Linked DNA regions of Homo sapiens: all the other regions are linked to region 1. Evidence: promoter capture Hi-C in 16 types of primary human blood cells and fetal thymus (Javierre and others, 2016). All regions are on one chromosome and are shown on one strand. The core of a region is centred on a gene start or on the middle of the fragment in contact, and the rest is flanking DNA. Distances in the headings are between cores, read along the strand shown. Region 1 holds the start of ATP13A5-AS1 (ATP13A5 antisense RNA 1). Region 2 has its middle 27 kb from the start of FGF12. Region 3 has its middle 51 kb from the start of FGF12.

Region 1 (3,665 bases), core at 600-3,099:
CACTCTTGAGTAACACTAATGGCCCCCTTCATTGGTTCTCCAATAGCACTTCACCCATTCCTCTGTTGCAGCATTTATCACTTTAGCTTGTAGTTGAATTCTGTCTGCAGAGCCAGACAATGGGCCCATTGATTGTAGGGCTGGAAGAGGAAAAAATGACTTACCTGATGAGATGAGGCACACACTGGATGTTGGTTGTTTTAGAGGTAAAAGGGGATGCCACAGATGCTTCCTGCTCTGATAATGAAATGCCTGCATGAGCCGCTTTCAAAGCCTGGAATGATAAGCCCATGTCTCACCCATGACTTTTCAGGTTAGGCTTTACCTCTTAAAACACCAAGAGGCTGTTCTTCACATCATAAAGGTATAACACTGTACTGTTTCATCTTTGGGTCTCTGTTTAATGCTGTCCCTCCACCTGGAGTGCCCTCTCTCCCCTGATCCACAAAGTCACTAACTAAACAATGACCCAGAGGTAGAAAAGTGGTGTGTGTACATGCATGCGTGTGTGCATGTGGGCATGTGCATACAAGGGCCCTGCCTGTGGGGATTATAGATGTGAAAAGGAGATGGAAGCCCTCATTCAAAAACTCAATTAAAAAGATGACAGAATTTGGATGGACGTTGGTTGGGGACCTTCACCGTTTCAGTTCTTGTACCTGGTGGGAATCTTCATGAACAAAGGTGAAAGAATTCCTAGGCCGATCCTATAAGAATTGTGTGGGCATAAAATGAACTTTTATATATCTGTAGTTCCACAGAACTACAGAGTACCTGGCGCCATGAGTACATACTAGATTCAGGTTTAATAAATAATAGGACATTTTCTTCTTCCTCTTTGATCTCTAGTTCGTATCTCTATTATGTACTTTAGGACCATCTACTTTATGTTAGGGTTAGTTTTATTCATGATTCTTTCTTCATCAGACAATGAACTCTTTAGGAGGCAGAGACTATGTCCCTTTTTGCATTTGATTTTTTTGTTTTATTCTAAACGCCACATAATTAATGTGAGAGGATACGTATTCTAGATTTGAAAGAACAGACTAAAAATTAGCTTTTTCTCATGAAACATAAAGCAAAAAACATCTCTAGCTATAAAAATTTCTAGCTATAAACACAGTTTTCACAGAAATTTGGAAATAATATTTAAGAGAGAAATAAAACAAATACCAAGATCTTAAATCTCTAATAAGCTTTGGAAATACAAAGAAATCTTCCTCACTTCTTGTCCCATAAATCAGCTACTGAAATATTTCCTTAAGTACATAATCTTGAAGGTAGACTATTTGTTTCCTTCATGTCTTTAAAACTCAGAATATAAAACATTCACTGCCCTTCTACTGCATATGAAAAATAATTTGCTGATAATCATTTTATTTAGCTTTTTCTATAGCATAAAATAACTAAATAGTTTGGTCTAGGATTTTACTGAGTGAAAGAGTTCTGGGTGAAGCAAACTTAAAAACTAACCAGAGAATGAAAGTTTGGCAGGAATAAATATAATTTACATATAATTCAAAACTTTAATCATCAGTTTCAAACTTCGTTTCATTGAGTCTTTATCAGTTGTGTGACCTTGGGAGGGGGGAAGAAATCACCTCCTTGAGAAATCATTTCATTACTGATAACAGGAAAGATTTAAAGCAGATAGACTTGTAAAGTTCCATCTTTGGAACCTGAAATATGGGAGTCTAAGTAGCCTTCCTTTGTGTTTATTATTCTAGGAGTTTCCAGAAAGCATCGGAAGTGTCTCATCTCCCTTTACTCCCCTCCGCTTCCAACCCACACTCAGGTAGAGGTGGATATAAACAGCAAAATAATCAAATGGTTGCTGGTGGAAGGATGAAGAGACAAACCCCAGGAGAGCCTGAGGTCCTCCAGAGGGATATTAGTGAGTGGCTTGTCTGAGCAAAAGCCATTTCTACTCACCCCACAGTCGTTAGCTCCATCTCCACACATGCCCACATAATAACTGCGGGAGACAGGAGAAGAAGGATTAATAGGTAAGAAAAATGAACAGCTCACTTGAATATTTTCCATCATAACTAAGTCACATGTGATTTGTGTGTATGTGTGTGTCCCCTGAACACACCTGGAATCAGGCTGAAGAAAAATGGTTTGGAGAGACATATTCCCAGAGGGAAAAGGCAGTTGCGTTATTTAAGTTGTTTCAATCAATCACATTGAAATGGTAGTGATATAACCAAGGACATCGGCAAAACAGTGATTGCACACTTTAAAAGAAGTCCTGCTTGATGATACGCACCAAGGCCAAGCTTAAGAGTATGCAGTCATGAGCAGAGCACTTCCCACACAACCTAATGCAGAGATCATAACCCAATCCAGCTGCATTTTAGTCACTGACTGTTGCTGAGCATTTACAGCTCAAATACCAGGATGAGAAATTTCAAAAACAGTTTAACAGATATAACTAGAGACATATATTCATATTTTTGATGCATGTCAGGGTGAAAATAAGATATGTTTTCCATCTATATCAGTTTGGTGTGCAAGCACAATACAAATAGAAGAGTAAAAATTAATACGGCTGCCAAAGAAAAGGAGTTTCAGATGTAAGACACTGCCTGCCTTCTATTATAAGTTATACATTATAAGTATTGATAAATGACAATATTCTTAAAGACTTAGCTGCATTTTTCTAAAAACAGAGTTATGAAATCAATAAGGAGAAAAAATAAAGTTTTGTTAGCGTTTCGTTATTATTAGTTAATGCATAAGAAACAACCACTTTTATAGGTCAAAAACAGTTAATTAAATGTGGCCAGGCACGGTGGCTCACACCTGTAATCCCAGCATTTTGGGAGGCTGAGGCAGGCGGATCTTGAGGTCAGGAGTTCGAGACCAGCCTAGCCAACACAGTGAAACCCCATCTCTACTAAAGATAGAAAAAATCAGCTGGGCATGGTGGTGTGCTCCTGTAATCTCAGCTACTTGGGAGGCTGAGGCAGGGGGATTGCTTGAACCTTGGAAGCGGAGGCTGCGGTGAGCCGATATTGCACCGCTGCACTCCAGCCTGGGCAACAAAGCGAGACTCTGTCTCAAAAACAAAAAAAAGTCAAATGTAGGCACACCCCTATGGTTCAATCCGATACTGGGCTGTGTAGATGAAAATAATCATGCTATATATGTTCATGTCATGACTACCCACAATTGTTGAAAAATGGCTCCTTCTTTCAGGCTTAAAGCACATATTTAGTCTCTATATCACATCAAGAATCTTATCATCTTCTAGTATTCCCTGAATTCAGAAAGAGAATGCAGACAGCCTTATGCACATTGCCAATGACAAAGGCATGAGGAGGAAGATTGGGATGTTGAGAAGACAGCTCATTCTGAGGCAGTGTGTGTCTTCCTGAATTCATTTTTTAAGGGGAATATGGCTTTTCAAAGTTAGGCATTTTAGTTGGCAAAATTTCTCAGGCATTTGAAAAAGGTAAAATTACTTTCTTCAGCAATATCATGTAATGATCATGTGAATGAAATAGTCATTTAGTCACTGGTTACTTACCCAGCCTCAGGCATTCTGGAAGTTAATAGGCAGTTTGTAAGACTTCCCTATGAATGCTTGGGTAACAAAATCTAACAATAAAAGGGTGTCTCCTGATTTCACCAACAACTCACCAGCCATCATCTAAAGATTC
Region 2 (3,665 bases), core at 576-3,075, 550 kb before region 1:
AATAGACGAAAAGTGTCATTAATTACAAAAAATTAGCCAGTCATCATAGTGCGTGCCTGTGGTCCCAGCTACTCAGGAGGCTGAGGTGGGAGGATCACTTGTGCCTGGGACGTGGAGGTTACAGTGAGCCAAGATCATGCCACTGCACTCCAACTTGGGTGACAGAGTGAGACCCCATCTCAAAAAAAAAAAAACAAAGTCTCGCTTGTTCTCACTCATAAGTGGGAGTTGAACAATGAGAACACATGGACACAGGGAGGGGAACATCACACACCAGAGCCTGCTGGGGGTGGGAGGCAAGGGGAGGGAGAACATTAGGACAAATATCTAATGCATGCAGGGCTTAAAACCTAGATGACGGGTTGATAGGTTCAGCAAACCACCATGGCACATGTATACCTATGTAACAAACCTGCACATTCTGCACATGTATCCCAGAACTTAAAGTGAAATTAAAAAAAAAAAAGTCACTATTGATAAGTATTTTTGCATCCTCTTCCTTTCAAAAGCAGTGTCTTTGTTGCTGGCAGTGAGAGCAAGTACCTGCCTCCATTTAAATCATCAATGTGACCAAGGACAGAGGATGCAGGCTAGTCTGAAGATGGTCATCGCTATGGACTGAATTGTGTATCCCACCCAAAGTCATATGTTAAGGCCCTAACCACTGATTTGACTGTATTTGGACATAAGGCCTATAAGGTGGTAATTTAGGTTTAGGTAATGAGGTCACAAAGGTGGGTTCCTGATCTGATGATATTAGTGTCCTTATAAGAAGAGATACCAGAGTGTACTTGTGTGCATGTGTGCATGCGCTCTCCCTCTCCCTCTCCCTCGCACACACCATGTAAAGTCACATTTTACCATCTGCAAGTCAGGAAGAAAGCCTTCAGCAGGCACCAGCAAGCACTTTGCTCCTGGACTTTGTAGCCTCCAGAACTGTGGGAAATAAGTTTCTGTTGTTTAAACCATCCACTCTGTGGTATTCTGTTATAGCAGCCTGAACTGACTAATACAATTGTTGTTAGAATTCTGTTTCTCGGACTGGCTATATTTGCATGCCCTATACACAGTCAGAAGTCTTACTCATGGTTACATTTATTGAACACTAAGCTCGATGTTGGGAGGCCTAAATTCTAAACTTGACTCTCTGCCACCAACTAGAAGTGTGAATTGGGACACATCACTTCCTTTCTCAGGAGCTCAGTTTCTCAATTGTAAAAAGAGTTATGCCCTGGATAATCTCTAAGTTTCCCTCCTGCAATGACTTTCTAAGCTGCTGGGAATTTAATCACATCCAGTTTCCATTTCCCAGTAATGCTTTTTGGCAAGGCTAGGAAACAACTCAAGAATCATTTATGCTATCCCTTCTCCTCACTCTACCGCCAAGACAATTTGTGTTGCTCTCACACTTACCTCCGGGGTGTTAGCAAAATCAATGGAGCTCTTTGTGTTTCTCAGATGGAAAAGCTTCTCATGAGTGTCCTTGTAACTTGATTGTGGTTAGAGCTGCTTCATGCATTGCTGATGGCCTGCACTTCTGAAAGGTGCTGAGGTAAATGCAAATTACAGCAGGGCCAATTTTGGGATAGGAAATAATTCTTCCCAAGATACCCATCTGGCAATATCCCATGAGGTCAGGAGGCAAAGATTAGGTAAATATCATCCACTACATCTATAAACTACCTTCGCAGCAGTGGCCAGGTCAAGAAAAGAGACACAGAGGCATGACAGTGGCTTCTTCCATCAAAAGAGCTTTTGTACTGCTTTTGCTTTTCCCCTTGCTTCTGGCCAGGGATGCCTAACACTGTAATTGTTTCTGGGTCAAGTTGAGGGATGAGTCCATTCCCTCTGCCCACCCACAATGTATTATCAGTTTCCTACATACCATCCCCAGTTCTGATCTTCAGTTCTTCCTTGTTCTTCCACCCCCGCCCCCAATCCCCAAGTCTGACTACATTGCTTTCTCTCTTCTCCTCCTCCTAACACATCAAAGGGATAACAGCTCCACAAGAGGAAATGTTTAATTTTACCATCTAATCAGTACCCAAACTGAAATACAGCTGATGTATCATAATTGACATGGCCTGCACCATCTTGAAGTCACATTGCCATGTTCTCAAAATATTTACAGAAGTATTTCTGCCAGAGATTTCCAATTCTTGCTGTGCATCAGACTCATTTGAAAAGCTTATTAAAAACACAGATGTCTAGGCTAAATTGCAGCCATCCTATACCAGAACCTGCAGGTGAAGAAGCCCTAGAATATGCATTTCAACAAGCTCTATAATACTCCTTAGGCAATTAGCCTAATATTAGTCATTTGGGAAATATAATGTTGTTTCTTGCTCATAGAAGCAGAAATCTTATGTCTTTAATCTTGATTTTTTATTAATTATAAATCTTTGTTACATAGAATAAAAATATAATTCTACTACTTTAACAACCGAAAAACATAAGAACATTGGAGTGGATCATGAAACTCTAAGAAAGACTGCAGCTGGGCTCAAGAACAATGAAAAAGTCACTTTCCAGATGTTTTCTATTTCATATCTTGAGGGGCTTCTGAATATTGATTTGGCTTTTCCGTCTCACCTCAGACTGGCTTTCTCCTCTCCTCAGTAGCAGAATGTAACTGCTGCAATTTCCCAAGTGTTACATATTTCAGTCCATTTATACAGATAACTTTCTTTTCTAAGGCCAAATTCTCAGGGAAAGATTCAAATTGGATTTGAAGGTATCAAGTGTCCACTTTACCCGAAGTACACACACACACACACACACACATTCATATTCTCTCTCTCTCTTTCATGAACCATGGTGCAGATTCTATTAAAGGATTTCTGAATCTCCCATATTTGCATCAAGTGGTTCCTTTGGCTGCTTATGATAGCTGGGGTGAGACTGATGTGGAAGCTCTCTCAGTCACCCTATCCTGTGAGTTTGGTGGGTAGCAGCAATTCTCAGACAATTGTAGGAAGCTCCTACAAAGGGGCAGTTCTAGAAGAAAGTGCTAGGTGAGCAAAAGAAGAAAAAAGGTACGTACTACAATATATTTCTCTTAGTGCCCATCATAGTGCTTTGCTCCTAATAAATGCTCAATACATATTAATTAAATAGAGAATGGGCCAGAACTAGTCAGAAGTCCTGATTTTAAATGACAGTACCAACAGTGATTAGCCATGTAAACATCAAACCTCTCAAGAGTTTCTTTATCTAAAGAATGGAGTTAACAGGCATATGAAAAGTTACTCGACATCATTGGTCATCAGAGAACTGCAAATAAAAACTATGAGACATCATCTCACCTGAGTAAATTAACATGGGTTATATTCAAAAGAGAGGCAGTAACAAATGCTGGAGAGGATGTGGAGAAAAGGGAACCCTTGTACACTGTTTGTGGGAATGTAAATTAGTACAACCACTATGGAGAACTGTTTGGAGGTTCCTGCAAAAACTAAAAATAGAGCTACCATATGATCCAGCAATCCCACTAGTGGGTATATACCCAAGAAAGGAAATCTGTATATCGAAGAGATACCTGCACTCCCATGTTTGCTGCAGCACTGTTTACCACAGCCAAGATTCTGAAGCAACCTAAATATCCATCAACAGATGAATAAAGAAAGAAAATATGGTACACATACACAATGGAGTACTATTCTGTC
Region 3 (3,665 bases), core at 703-3,202, 530 kb before region 1:
ATTTTTTTAAAAACATGAAAAAATTAGCTGGGCATATTGGCTCATGCCTGTAATCCCAGCTACTTGGGAGGCTGAGGCAGGAGAATCACTTGAACCCAGGTTGCAATGAGCTGAGATCACACCATGCACTCTAGCCTGGGTGACAGAGTGAGACTCCATCTCAAAAAGAAAATTTTATATATATATATATACATATATATATACACACATATATATGTATTTATATATGTATGTATATATGTATATATATGTATATATGTATATATATGTATATATATATGAACAGTATCATTAAAAAGTCTAATATCTTTTAAGTCTAATAAAATTTGTGCAACATTTCTAACTTAAAACTATAAAATATATCTGAAAGAAATTAAAGACGACCTTATAAATGAAGAACTAGACTATGTTCATAGATTGGAAGATAAAATTTCCCAATTGTAATTGGAAGATTGCATCTTTTGATTGCATCTTTTCTACAAATTATTAAATGTTCCACTCCCCAAGTTAATCTATAGATTTAACACCATCACAATCAGTGCTGGCATGCTTTGTGTATCTGTGAATATTGATAAAAACTGATTCTGAAATTTATATGAACACACACACAAAACCTACAATAGCCAAGACTGTCTTGAGAAAGGACTTACACCCCTAGAGTTCAGGACTTTAAAGACACAGTAATTAAAAGTGTGGCATTGACATAAGCAGAGAGACATTAAACATAAAACACAATAAAGTGTTCATGAGTGTGTGTGTTTGTGTGTATGTTTGTGTGTGGTCATTTAGTTTTTAACAAAGGTACCTCAGCAATTCAGAGAGGATAAGATGATCTTTTAATAAATTGTACTAGGTCAATTGGACATCCATATAGAAAAGAAAAACAACCTTAATCCCAAACCTCACATCATACAAAAATTTAATTTAAGGTAGATTATAATAAAAATTTAACTTAAGATAGATTATAAATCTAAATAGTAAAAGGTAAAACAATAAAGCTTTTAGAAAAAACAAACGAGAATAATTTCAAGACATATTTGTCAGGTAAAGAAATTTTAACAGAACACAAGTAACAATTATCATAAAAGACGAGAGAACTTGTGGCCTTTTTTTTTTTTTTTTGAGATGGAGTCTCGCTCTGTCGCCCAGGCTGGAGTGCAGTGGCACGATCTCGGCTTACTGCAAGCTCCACCTCCCGAATGCACGCCATTCTCCTACCCCCATTGTATCTAGGAAGTAACTAGCTTGCTTTTGATCTAGGAAGTAACTAGCTTGCCTCCTGAGTAGCTGGGACTACAGGCACCTGCCACCACACCTGGCTAACTTTTTGTGTTTTTAGAAGAGATGGGGTTTCACTGTGTTAGCCAGGATGGTCTTGATCTCCTGACCTCATGATCCGCCGCCTTGGCCTCCCAAAGTGCTGAGATTACAGGCATGAGCCACTGTGTCTGGCCGAGAACTTATGGACTTTAAAAGCTTCTGTTCATCAAATACATCATTAAGAGGATAGAAAGAATAGGCAGAGAAAGATGTTTAAAATACATTTTAGATAAAGGACTTGTTTCCGAAATATATAGAGAACAATTACATATTAATAAAGAAAGACAAAATAACACAATTTCAAAAATGGGCAATAACTTGAACAGGCAATTTACCAACAAAGATATAAAAATATCCAGTAAGTGTAAGACAATCTATTAAACACCATTGGTTATTAGAAAATGCAAATTAAGACCGGGTGTGGTGGCTCACGCCTGTAATCCAAGCATTTTGGGAGGCCAAGGCAGGTGGATCATGAGGTCAAGACATAGAGACCATTCTGGCCAACATGCTGAAATCCCATCTCTACTAAAAATACAAAAATGAGCTGGGCGTGGTGGTGTGCACCATGTAGTAGCAGTCTCAGGACTGAGTAGTCCCAGCTACTCAGGAGGCTGAGGCAGGAGAATCGCTTGAACCCAGTAGGTGGAGATTGCAGTGAGCTGAGATGGCACCACTGCACACCAGCCTGGTGACAGAGTGAGACTCCATTTCAAAAAAAAAAGAAAATGCAATTTAAAACTATAATGAAACACCTGTATGTACCCACCAAAGTGACTACAAATTAGAAAAAAAAAAAAAAAACTATCAACACAATGTGTTGGTAAGAATGTGAGACAACTGGAAATCTCATACATTCATGGTGGAAGTATAAAGTGATACAACACTTTAGATACCTGGAATGATCTACTATCCTCCGAGTCAAAAATTCTATTTCTAGGTATATACCTAAAAGGAACAACTGCATATGTCTAACAAAAAAGTGTGCGAAATGTGCATGTCAGCATTCTTCCTAACCATAAAATACTGCCAAAAATAGCCCAAAGCTGGAAACAACCCTAATGTCCCCAGATGGATTGTAGACATAAATTCGAATTAGAAAAATCATAAAGCTTTTAAAAGATAATATAGAAGAATGACTTCAACTATCAAGTTAGGAAGAAATTTCTTTAATTTGTTATTTATTTATTTTATTTTACTTTAAGTTCTGGGATACATAAACAGTGTGAAAAGATTGATATACTTTATATTAAAACAAAATTAAGACCTCTGCTTTTCAAAACATAAGCAGAGGTCTTAATTTCATTTTAATATGAAAGAGAATGAAAAGGCAAGTCACAGAGTGGGAGAAAATATTTGAAACATTTTTAAGTAACAATCTACTTTGGTTTTATGTCCAAAAGGTTTGAAGGTATGAGTACTAGGAGACATGGATGAAAATATCCACAATAGTATTATTAATAAGTAAATACTGGGGACGAGTTAAATATCCATCAACAGCAAATAGTTAAATAAATAGTGGCATGTTTATATAGTGGAATATCAGACAGCATTGGAAGTTAACAAACTACTGCTTCCTGAAACACCATAGGTGAATCTCACAAACATAAAATTGAGTGAGAGAAACCAAACATGAAAAAATGATTCCATTTATACAAAATGTTAAAACACAGTCAAACTAATCACCTAAAAATGCAGAGGGCTACAGAAAAAACATAAAGAAAAGAAAAAGAAGAGATTATCATAAAATTGGACACAGTTATATTTATTAGGGGAAAAGAAGGTTGGAATTGGGAAGAAGCATAGATGGGCTGAGGGTGCTGGATAAGTTCTGTTTCTTGACCTCAGTGGTGGTTAAATGGGTGTTCACATTTACAAAAATTTGTTAACGTGAAGCTGCATATTTACATTTGTATGTATTTCACTTAATGGCATATTTCACAATAAAGACTGTCTGAAAACACTATATAGGAACTGTATTTTCATTATCTGCCCATAACTATATGCTTACTCTTGGAAGTATTATCTCACTCACTTAAAGACTATAATCTCAAAGGTCTAAAATAATTTTATAGTTCTCCTTTCATTATGAAATATAAAATAGAAGAGAAAATTATATCTCAGTAATTTTTCCTTACTATTCTCATTTCACAGTCTATACCTTCTCTCTCTTATACAATATAAAAAAATTACAGTTGGTTCTGAATAACAAATTGGTATAAAACTGAGCAAAGGTGGAAAGTTAGCAAGATAAGATGAGATGTCTTCATAAAGAAGCAACTTCTATAATTTCTGTCAGTTCCCAAATACTGAGTTGGAAGGCTGTCACATAGCTCTTTCAAGCT

What was found. The method cuts DNA at HindIII sites, captures the fragments that hold promoters and counts their contacts. A CHiCAGO score of 5 or more calls a contact.
Region 2: a fragment that was not itself captured here is called in contact with the fragment with the promoter of ATP13A5-AS1 in region 1 in 1 of 17 cell types (M0 macrophages); the score reaches 6.1 in M0 macrophages.
Region 3: a fragment that was not itself captured here is called in contact with the fragment with the promoter of ATP13A5-AS1 in region 1 in 1 of 17 cell types (M0 macrophages); the score reaches 6.7 in M0 macrophages.

What each region holds. Positions count from the first base shown.
Region 1 is chr3:193,305,395-193,309,059 of GRCh38, forward strand. ATP13A5-AS1 (ATP13A5 antisense RNA 1) reads left to right here and starts at 1,850. Exons shown (of 2, transcript NR_046758.1): 1 at 1,850-2,006. It overlaps ATP13A5 (ATPase 13A5), which reads right to left. Exons shown (of 30, transcript NM_198505.4): 22 at 1,933-1,975; 23 at 165-274. The HindIII fragment of the contact is 1,083 bases long and covers 1,195-2,277 here.
Region 2 is chr3:192,752,471-192,756,135 of GRCh38, forward strand. No RefSeq gene overlaps it. Among named protein-coding and RNA genes, the nearest start is that of FGF12, 27 kb to the left of the region's middle. The HindIII fragment of the contact is 720 bases long and covers 1,466-2,185 here.
Region 3 is chr3:192,776,392-192,780,056 of GRCh38, forward strand. No RefSeq gene overlaps it. Among named protein-coding and RNA genes, the nearest start is that of FGF12, 51 kb to the left of the region's middle. The HindIII fragment of the contact is 956 bases long and covers 1,475-2,430 here.